Regions from separate parts of the Homo sapiens genome. Here all the other regions are linked to region 1. Evidence: promoter capture Hi-C in 16 types of primary human blood cells and fetal thymus (Javierre and others, 2016). All regions are on one chromosome and are shown on one strand. Each heading gives the region's core, a stretch centred on a gene start or on the middle of the fragment in contact. The rest is flanking DNA. Distances are from core to core; before and after follow the strand shown.

Region 1 (2,532 bases), core at 23-2,522:
CTGTAGTCCTCGCTACTGGCAAGACTGAGACAGGAGGCTCTCTTGAGCTGTGATTGCACCACTGCACTCCAGTCTGGACAACAGAGAGAAACTCTGTCTCTAAAACAAACAAAAAGACTTGGAATCAGGAATAAATATGGTTGAAACTATACTATCTGGACTGAAGTGGTGGTTGCACTTAGTGGTAATGAGAAATGAAGTTAGTTGGATGAGTTAGGGTCAGAGTATGCAAGGCTTTAGAAATAGGAAACAGGAGAGAAACCATTGAAAGTTTCTGAACAGAACTTGTGATGATGAAATCAGAATTCAAGGGGAGAAAAAGGAGCATAGTGGTGGCATCCATGATGGATTTGGAGAAGAAAATACTAAAGGTGAATGGAAAGGGTGGACCAGGGGCAAACAGGTTATTAAAACAGTCCCATCATGAAGTGTTGAAATGCTGGATGTAAACACACCTACCACAGTATCAGTACAGACTAAGGGCTTGGATAAATGTTAGTCAAATCCAAGTACTAAAATTCTTCTTGGTTCGCGAAAATTTCAGAAGTGGCTCAAAAATCTGTAATGCATTAAGAATATTATTTGCTTCACAATATTTCATTTACTTAAGATTTTATAAGAATCAGCTGCTTATAAAATTGTTACTTTGTGGTGCACCAAAGCACCTTGTTCTCTCCCTCACCCAGATATGTTTCATGCTCTTTGTACTTTCCACCCCTTAACAGATTTGGAGGGAAGATTCAAGCCGTGGATTTTTAAATTTAAAGCAATGCTGTCACAAATTGAGAACTGACAACATGTCATTACACATTTAATTGCCACCGAATCCCAGAGTTTAAAAATTGTAAGGACCTAAGAGATAGGACCTCTCGTTGTACAGATGCGGAAACTGAGGCTGAGAGAGGGTAAGTGAACAGTCCCAGGTCACAGAGCTGCTAATGGGCAAGGTGGGACTAGAATCCAGGCTTGACTCCTCTACGCTGAGCCAAGGGTTCGAAGCGATTGGGATAAGGGAAGCCTGAGGCAGGGAACGAGAGTCAGGAAAGCAGCTCTTCCCAACCCTAGGAGGCCGGGGGACCTCGTCACCGCGGAAGGAGCGGAGCCAGGCCGACCTAAAAAGCCGCAAGTCCAGGTACCCTTACCCTGATGGCCGCGGCGACACACTCGGCCACCTTCCTGATCTCGCGATACTAGCCGGTACTCACTTTTCCGGCTTCCCCTAGGCCCCGCCCCCCCACCTCAGCCCTTCTGTCGTCATTTCCTGTGGGTCTGTAGGTTAAGGGAGAAGATGGCGGCGCTAGGGGAACCCGTGCGGCTGGAGAGAGGTGAGTGCAGCCGAGGCTCGGCGGAGGTGGGCGGAAGGGTTGGGGGAGTGCTGTGTCGCTGGAGGGGAGGAGGAGTGACCCAGGCTCTGAGATCCGGGCCACGCTGTCCCTTGTGCCGGCGCCAGAGGCCGCCGTTGTCTCTGTGCCTGGCTCTAGGAAGGGCGCTTACGGTATTTTGTCTGTTAACCGTAAGCCCTCCTCTGTTCACACGGACTGTTCCAAGGCACAGCACAACTAAACACAACCTGCCCGCTTCGCAGACACACGCCGCACACGCGCTCCCTTGGTGAGCACAGCAGAAGCAGCATTCGGAGACCCGTACACCCGAAAAGCAAACGTCACACACCCGGTTCGCACAGACTACACTCATTGCCTGTACAGCACGAGAACGGACACACGGTACAATTCAACAGAACCTCCTTTCCCCGCTGTTTGCACACAAACTCCTTCATTACTTTCTCCACAACCTCGCTTGTATTCGGGTTGGGGTATTTGCTAGCTTTTGTGCCCCTCCTAGAAATGGAGAGGTTGCTTTAAAAACAATCCTACTGACTTGGTCTTGGGAAGGAGGTTACGTAAGTAAGCCGAATAGTGGTAGATGCTAAAACACTTGCAGGTGCAGTGTTTTTCATTTCTTACAAACCCTACAATTGCAAACTGGTTGGCTGATTGCTTCCTAGAGCAGACTGTCAAGGAAAATAAAACCACCTCTGCTGAGTAATTAGAGATAGAGAAGCCTACGAAAATAACTGGCTATGCGCCTACCATGATTTCCAGCATTCCAGCGTTTCCAGTCCTTTTACAGATTTCCAGCATTCCACTCTGTCCCTAAGTCCTTTATTTCAAACAATTTCAAGCATGCTTTTCATACACCAGCATTAGAAATCATTGATAGGAATTGAGAAGTACAAATAAACATTTTGAGTACTGGTGGTAAAAAAAAATGTATATGTAGGATGGAGACTGAAATTATATTGCACATATTAACATTTGCAATTAGTCTAAATATTACTATTGTTCCCTAAGAAAACACATTTTTAGAATTACTGTACTTAGAAAAACCTCTTTCCTAATGCCTTCCCACAAACAAATGTGCACTTAATGTTGCTGATTTGCTCTTTACCGTGTTCACCATTTGGAAGCCTCACTGTAAATGAGATTGTTTCCGTTAAGCCTATTAAAGCATCATTTTAGAGGACTAGCTACT
Region 2 (2,532 bases), core at 11-2,510, 7.1 Mb after region 1:
TAGAGTGAAGGGAATATCCGATTTACAGACACAAGCCTGGGAAGTCAGGCAGGGCAAATTCTTGTAAGTGAATAATCCCACCTTTCACTGCCATAGACCTATCTCACTCTGCAAAGCAGTTTCAGAATCCCTGACAATATTAGTGTGAAGTGCGCAGGTTGACAAAATCAGCAAAGTGGCTGAGAAAATTCTCAAGGTCACCAGGGCTGCCTCTAGAATACAGCTTGTATGACCCTGAAAACAGTGCTCTTCTGTCTCACCAGCCCCCACCCCCATTACAACCCAGACCCAGCTTTATAGGGTTGCAGATGGAGAGAAGGGCTTTGCCCAAGACCACACAATGAGCGGGAGGGAGGCACACCTGGGCTACAATCCAGGAGTCAGACTTCTGGGAGGGACTCTCACAGACCAATCTTGGCCAAGTTTTGATGGCCTCTCACTACCCCCACCACTGGCAGGGCAGTATTCAGCCTTTAGGCATGAAATATGTTCACCTCGCAGAATCCTGGGGGTCCATTTGAGTCCCAGCTGAAATACCCACCACATTTTTATAAGCTTCCTCGTCGAAGGTGAGCTTCCTCCGGCCAATGAGCGTGACTTTGGAAAACAGGCCCTGCTCCAGGATTTCCTTTAAGAGCACTCTGCCGGTTTCTCCGCTGGCGCCCAAAATAAAGACGGATTTATTCTGCATCCTGAAGTCTTCCCGAAGCTTCGACAGGGCTTCTGTTTCGGCCATGCTGGGGAAATAACATCGACAGATGCCGGTCTTAGGGTGTCAGGGGACTGCCAGTCCTTATCCCGAGGAACAAGGGCTGTTTATCTGTTAGGGAGGAGGATATTGTTCTCCGCAGTCCGGGCTCTGGGGAAAGTGCTGAGTCACGTGCGGGGCGCGGCTCCCCGGCCATCGCCCGCACCTGAGCCAGCAGACCCATCGGAAGGGGCCCGAGCTGGAGGGTGCGCCCAGGTGCCACAAGCTGCTGGCATCACTGGGCATACCCCACGGTATCCCCGGCCCGGCCAGGAGACCTGGCCCAGCTCGGTCCCATACGCGGAGGGGTTACCTGGGGCCAGCCCCCGGCCCCGGGTCCTCACGACGCAGCAGGAGCAGGGCGGCCGCCAGAGCAGCCGCCGCCGCCGCGCTCAGCGCCGCAGGCCCGGCCATCAGAGCATCCCACCTTCCCTGGTCGGACCGGGGGGGTTGGAGGCGACGGAGACAGCGCCTACCCGGCTTGGTCTTCCGGGTGGCCTCGCGGCGACGCTGCCTCGCCCCGCCCACAGGGGCGGGACCTGGAGACGAACTCCTGGCACCCTCACAGGCGCGGGGAAGGTGACCCCGAGAGCACGTGCGCGGAGCCGCGACCCTTCCTAAGTTTGGAATCTGCAAGACCCTCTTCCCGCGTTTTCCCTCACCTGCTGGGCTCAGCTCACCCAGGCGCCAGCTAGTAGACTTGCCAGACTTGATCTTCAATGGTCCCCCCAGCTGGAATGTCAATTGTATATTGGCCATCATCTCAAATTCACCAAGTCAAAAACTTAACCCTGCCTACCCAACCACCCCAAACAGGAATAAAACAAACCTATTCCTAGCCTCTCTTGGGTGTCACTGTCCCTACATAAACATACACACACACACGCACACACACACACACCTCCTTCTACCCTGTCAAGTCAGAAATCAGGATTCCTTTGATTCCTTTCTTTTCTAGCCTTTCCACACTACAGACTTATCAAGTCCTGTTATCCCATCTGCCTTACAAATATTTCTCCCATGTAATTCAAGCTCGCATCATATCTCCCCAGAATAAATGGTCTACCTGCCCAGGTCCTGGCCTAATTCATCACCTAGATGGTTGAACCCGGGTGACCTTCCACACCTGTGATTCAGTCTTCCTAGCCCAGATCAGTGGTTTGGGACACAGGTATCTACACTGGGCCTGTCCTGGATCTTGGAAGTCCTGAACAGAGGTTAGAATGACAAGCAGAAATCTGAATAATTTCAGATTGTTCAGGTTTTGTTGGGAACATTGGTCATTTGGGGGCCCCACCTCCCATCTAGAAGCCAATGAAACACATTGCCTCTTCCATCTCCATGGGAGTTATTATATGTAGGCTTTGCCTAGGCTCAGCAAGCCAGAGGCTCACGCATAGGTTTTCAGTTTTGGAGGAGTAATGAAAAGATGCAGTGAAGGCCTGAGATATATGTGGGTTGGTTGGGGCAAGGGTATAGGATTATGGCATCATATGATCCACCAGCCATCTGATGGTCTGATCTTGTCTTAAATTCCTGCCTGTTTTCAGAGACTGTTGTGAATACAGTACTTCCTGTTATTCTTCTGATAAATTCCTGTGCTGTATAAGCTTACCAGATATATTCTGTTGTTTGCAATAAAAAAGCTTGATTAATATAGAGCAGTGTGGTTCATTCCCCACTGGCCTGTCACAGTGCCTGGACTCTTCCCTTTGAGTTCCTAAAGGTTTTCTACAAGAATGCAATGTTAAACCTTGTCAGCAAACACTGTCCTAGTAATTCAT
Region 3 (2,532 bases), core at 33-2,532, 7.1 Mb after region 1:
GGTGATCCACCTGCCCGCGAGCCACCGCCCGGCCCAGAATTCTTGCTTAGGAGGGAGTGCCCCAGGCTCTAGCAGAGTTTATCTAATTGGCCTATCAGGCCCTGCATAATCCTGCCTCTTTCCAATGGAACCCTTCACCTTGGGTCCCACCCTTAAGCCTTTTATTTACTGCTAATCATTGAATGTTCTACACATGGGTAGGTCCCTTTGGTCTCAACCAGAAACACTTTCCTCAGGCCATTTCTAAAATAGTTTCCACCATTATTTCAGGAGTATCCTGTTAGTTTCTTAGCACCCACCATTTGCTTACTTGATTTTTTTTTCTTTTTTGGTGATACCCCACAGCACTGAACAATAAGGGTAAGTAAGGGCCATGTCTCTTTACTTTCATTTCTCTGGCACATAATATGTGGCCTGGCCCATAGTATTAATAGATACTGAATGTATTCACTGAATAAAAATGATGCCTTATATTATTGCTAAATGTACTTCTAAATGTACTTTTCTCCCTTAATTGTAAATTCCTAGAGGACAGAATCCATTAAATATTAGTTTTTGTTTTTGTTTTTCTTTGAGACAGAGTCTCGCTCGGTTGCCCAGGCTGGAGTGCAGTGGTGCGATCTTGTCCCACTGCAACCTCCACCTCCCAGGTTCAAGCGATTCTCCTGCCTCAGCCTCCCAAGTAGCTGGGATTATAGGTGCTCACCACCATGCCTGGCTAATTTTTATATTTTTAGTAGTGACAGGGTTTCACCATGTTGGTCAGACTGGTCTTGAACTCCTGACCTCAAGTGATCTGCCCACCTCGGCTTCCCAAAGTCCTGAGATTACAGGCGTGATTGACCGCACCCGGCCCAAATATTAATTTTGAAGCTTTCTTACATCCTAGGACATTGCCAGAATAGCTGCTGGCTCTCTTGAGTTGGAGTCATCGTTCATGGATGCATCCCCAGTGCCTGTGTGCTCAGTGGCACATGAAAGGCACTGAATAAGCATTTGCTGAATGAATTAATGAACACTTGATTACCTGGGCCCATCCAACTTTTCCCTTCATCCTTCCAACATAAACTTTTTCTGTCTGTGTAACATTTGGTGGAAAACTTCCTGAATCCCTTAGTACTAAATGGAACACCCAGTCCATTCAGTGTTGACAATAAAACAAGTTAACACCCATTGTGGAGGAGTGATTGGGCCAGAGTCTTGTTCCTTAGTAAGTTCATATCTCACCACAATGCAGAGCTCAAGAGAGGGCTGCTTTTCTCTCTACTCCAAAGGTGAACACAGACCCTTCCTCATTATCCCACATCACTACTGAGACCAGAATAACATGTTGAATGAAACCTGCTCGAAGGTTTGTGAGTAAGGAAATAATATAAGGAGAATAACTTAAAACAGGCCACTGGGTTTAGCTGCTTTCAGAGCCCAGAGGCCTCAACATATCCTCGGCCCATGCTTTTTCACCATCAAAACAACACACTTAGGCTCTTCAAAGTCCAACTCCCAGGGAACCCCACCTGGCAGAAGGAAGATATTTCATTTCCTTTTAAAGCTCACATTTCAATATCCCACCCTGCCCTAAAATATGCCTCTTTTTTGGGTGACTGACACTGGGAATGTCTTCTCCCTTCTAAGGATATACACTCCAAATTAAGGAGAATGGCCTTTATCCTCCAGTGTATACTGAAGCTTGAAATGTACTTGGCATACAGTAGGCCTTGGAAGAATTGACTGAGTCCCTCGAATCACTTTGCTTCCCTGGTGCAGACGTTAAGACAAGTTACATTAACATCTTTTGTTCTATGATGGAAATTAGCAATGTATGTTCCTCTTGGCTTTGACCCTTCCTTCTGCATCTTCCTTTGCCTTAATTTTTAAAGTGCAGCAGCATGAGCACTTTAAAGTTTGGTGGCATAGAATTTTACTGGCTATGTGAACATTTAGTAATTAATCACTAGAACAAAGGAGAAACCCAAATATTTCGATTTTGTTCATCCACAACATGTAGTAACAATCAACTGGAACTACCTGGAAATATACGGGAACAGAATGCTTTTGCAGGGTGCTTAAAAACACGATATATGGGATCTATGGGATCAGGCAGACCTGGGTTAGAATCCTGACTCTGCCATTTCTTTGCTTCAGTTCTTCAGATTTGGACTCTTGAGCAAGGCACTTAACCACAGTGAGCCTCATTTCCCCATCTAAGACATGAAGATCATGATAGTATCACTTTATAAGGATTGTTTATAAGAGGGTTAAAGCACAGATAACACATGTAAAGACTGGTACTTAGCAAGCATTTGGTAAATATTAGCTGCTATTATATCACCCCATAGGCTGAAATGCTGCATATCACACTACATGGGCATTTTCAAGCAATCTAAGAGGCACCCAGGAGTTGTCCATTCATCTTTATTCCTTTATTTAATCCTCCCCATGTATTATATAAGCTTAGGTATATAACTTCTATTACATAAAGAAGTAGTAAAGGCACAATGTTTACTTACACAATTACATGTAGTGAATTAGCAC
Region 4 (2,532 bases), core at 20-2,519, 5.1 Mb before region 1:
AGTCCCGACGCCGACCAGGGAGCTGGCGGTGAAGCGTCGGGCCCCGCGCTGGGACCGCCGGCCGGCGAGCTGGTGCGAATCGAGGCCAGGAACGCGCGCCCCAGCCACCGGCCTCCCCATTCTCGCGTGTAGAACAGCTGCGGGTGTCAGCCCCGGCCGCCCGGCCCAGGCTCGGCAGCGGTCCCTTGCGCTACTAGGACATCCCCCACCCCACCGTGGCGGCACCCGTAGACCGAAGCACACCTGATCTTCTTCACTGATGTCGATGAAGGCCGGGACGCTCATGGTGCAGGCCCGGGCACAGCGGACACTCCACTCGCAAGACCACGCCGACCGGAAAAGGGAACTGGGCCGCGCGACGCTGCTGGCGCAACTGCTTCCGGGTCACCCTGAGCGGCGACCTGTTGGGGCGGGGCCTTGAGAGCCAATCCTATCGCGCGCTCTCGCCGCGGAATGCAGCAGGGCGTGGCAGACGCGCTCGGGCTGGCCTAGTGGGTGGGACTTACTGGGCCTCCACTCAGCGACGCTTGTCGCGGCCTCCAGTTTTCAGGCCCGTGTAGCTAACTGCATTGATGTTGCCTCCCGCTGGCGCCTCCCTAAGTCCACCTTCCCTTGAAATGTTAAGCTTGTTGGGTCTTACCAAGTATGGATGGGTTTGTGTAGACCTGAAACTCTCCTGTACTGCTGTTGGGAACATAAAATGGTGCAGTCACTTTGCAGAGGAGCGGCAGTTTCTGAAAAAGTTCAGTATCCACCCAGCATATGACCCAGCTATTCTTCTACCCAAACTGTATGTCCGTACAAAGACTTGTACAAGAATGTTCATTGCCGCTTTTAAAAAATAGCAGCTTTGGCTGGGCGCAGTGGATCTCACGCCTGTAATCCCAGCACTGTGGGAGGCCGAGGTGGGCGGATCACTTGGGGTCAGGAACTGGAGACCAGCCTGGGCAACATGGCAAAACCCCGTCTCTACTAAAAATACAAAAATTACCGGGGCATAGTGGTGCGCGCCTGTAATCCCAGCTACTCGGGAGGCTGAGGCAGGAGAATCACTTCAACCTGGGAGAAGGAGGTTGCAGTAAGCCCAGATCATGCCACTGCATTCCAGCCTGGGCGACAGAGCGAGACTCCGTCTCATAAAATAAATACACAATTCAGTAGTTTTTAGTATTTTCAGAGTTGCACAACCATCACTACTATTTAATTTTAGAACATTTTCATCACCTACAAAAGAAACTACCCATCAGCAATCACTCCCCAGACCCCCGGCCCCACCTCTCTCCAGCCCCTGGCAAACACTACATTTTGTCTCTATGAATTTGCCTTTTCTGGACATTTCATGTAAGTGGAATCACAAAATACACGGTGGCCTAAGTCAGACTTACTTCATTTAGCATAATGTTTTCAAGGTTCGTCCATGTATCCCTCCTATATTCCTATTTATTGCTTATAATATTGCATTGTTATGGATATACCACATTGTGTTGATTTGTTCATCAGTTGGTGGACACTTGGGTTGTCTCCATTTTTTGGCTATTATGAATAATGTTTCCATGAACGTTAGTGCACAAGATTTTGTGTGTACGTATATTTCTCTTAGGTATGTACCTATGAGAGGAATCAGTGGCTTATTTAGTAAATTTATGTTTAGCTTTTTCAGGAGACAGTTTCCAAAAAGTTAACACTTTATTTTCAATAGCCAAAAAAAAGGAAACAACCCAAATGTTCATCAATAGATGAATGAAGTGGATCAAAAAATTGTTATACATCTGCTTAATGGAATACTGCTGTGCAACAAAAAAGGATGAATTATTGATACATGCAAAAACACAGATGAATCTTTTTTTTTTTTCAGTCTCTTCAGCCTGGGTGACAAAGTGAGTGAGACTCCATCTCTTAAAATAAAAGCTTGATTTTTTTTCTTTAGTTGACAATCCCAAAATAATTCAAAATAATTTTGTTCAGTTAATCATCATACTGTATGATTCCATTTATATAAAACTCTAGAAAGTAGAAACTATAATGACAGCATTATAGATTGCTGTTGCCTGGGGGCAGGGATTGGGTAAGGCGGGGGGAAAGATGGATACAGAGGGGCTTGAGGAAGTTTTTGGGGGTTATGGATGTGTTCATTATTTTGACTGTGATTGTGTCATGATTGTATACATATATAACATTTTTCAAAGTGTGCAGTTCAAAAATGTGCAGTTTATTGATACCACAATTATACTTCAATATAAAATAAATGCCAAGCAAAGGAAAAAAACAAGGTTGAGGGGATAGAGGACACAAAACATCTGGCTAGACTAAATTTGAAAGGATTCATTCTTGCATGGAATAGCCTTAACAATGTGGAAAGTGAAACTGAAGGCAGGGAACCTGTGTCATGTTCACCCTGCATTTCCGCACCCACCTCAGTGCCCAGCCCACAGCAGATCATCAGGAAATACCAGTTGATTCTGAAGGAATAATCCCTGGGCTCCTCCCCTCGCCTTATTATTGCAAAGTTCGAGGAATACAAACTCAACAATA

Evidence for each region. The method cuts DNA at HindIII sites, captures the fragments that hold promoters and counts their contacts. A CHiCAGO score of 5 or more calls a contact.
Region 2: the fragment with the promoter of HTATIP2 here is called in contact with the fragment with the promoter of LIN7C in region 1 in 4 of 17 cell types (non-activated CD4 T cells, total B cells, activated CD4 T cells and 1 more); the score reaches 11.6 in non-activated CD4 T cells.
Region 3: a fragment that was not itself captured here is called in contact with the fragment with the promoter of LIN7C in region 1 in 2 of 17 cell types (total CD4 T cells and total CD8 T cells); the score reaches 7.9 in total CD4 T cells.
Region 4: a contact is called between a fragment that was not itself captured here and the fragment with the promoter of LIN7C in region 1, in 1 of 17 cell types (non-activated CD4 T cells). The highest score is 7.8, in non-activated CD4 T cells.

What each region holds. Positions count from the first base shown.
Region 1 is chr11:27,505,509-27,508,040 of GRCh38, reverse strand. It overlaps LIN7C (lin-7 cell polarity scaffold C), which reads left to right and starts at 1,272. Exons shown (of 5, transcript NM_018362.4): 1 at 1,272-1,325. The coding sequence starts at 1,289. It overlaps BDNF-AS (BDNF antisense RNA), which reads right to left and starts at 1,189. Exons shown (of 7, transcript NR_033315.1): 1 at 1,143-1,189. RefSeq lists enhancers at 866-1,155, 1,226-1,355, 512-1,711. The HindIII fragment of the contact is 9,378 bases long and covers 1-2,532 here.
Region 2 is chr11:20,362,442-20,364,973 of GRCh38, reverse strand. It overlaps HTATIP2 (HIV-1 Tat interactive protein 2), which reads right to left and starts at 1,260. Exons shown (of 5, transcript NM_001098522.2): 1 at 542-1,260. The coding sequence starts at 736. RefSeq lists silencers at 911-1,053, 840-1,259. The HindIII fragment of the contact is 1,649 bases long and covers 712-2,360 here.
Region 3 is chr11:20,383,645-20,386,176 of GRCh38, reverse strand. HTATIP2 (HIV-1 Tat interactive protein 2) reads right to left here. Exons shown (of 5, transcript NM_001098522.2): 5 at 2,395-2,532. Among named protein-coding and RNA genes, the nearest start is that of PRMT3, 2.8 kb to the left of the region's middle. RefSeq lists an enhancer at 633-1,134 and a silencer at 1,067-1,267. The HindIII fragment of the contact is 813 bases long and covers 876-1,688 here.
Region 4 is chr11:32,581,641-32,584,172 of GRCh38, reverse strand. It overlaps EIF3M (eukaryotic translation initiation factor 3 subunit M), which reads right to left and starts at 342. Exons shown (of 11, transcript NM_006360.6): 1 at 244-342. The coding sequence starts at 285. RefSeq lists enhancers at 187-336, 1-631 and a silencer at 497-556. The HindIII fragment of the contact is 1,283 bases long and covers 628-1,910 here.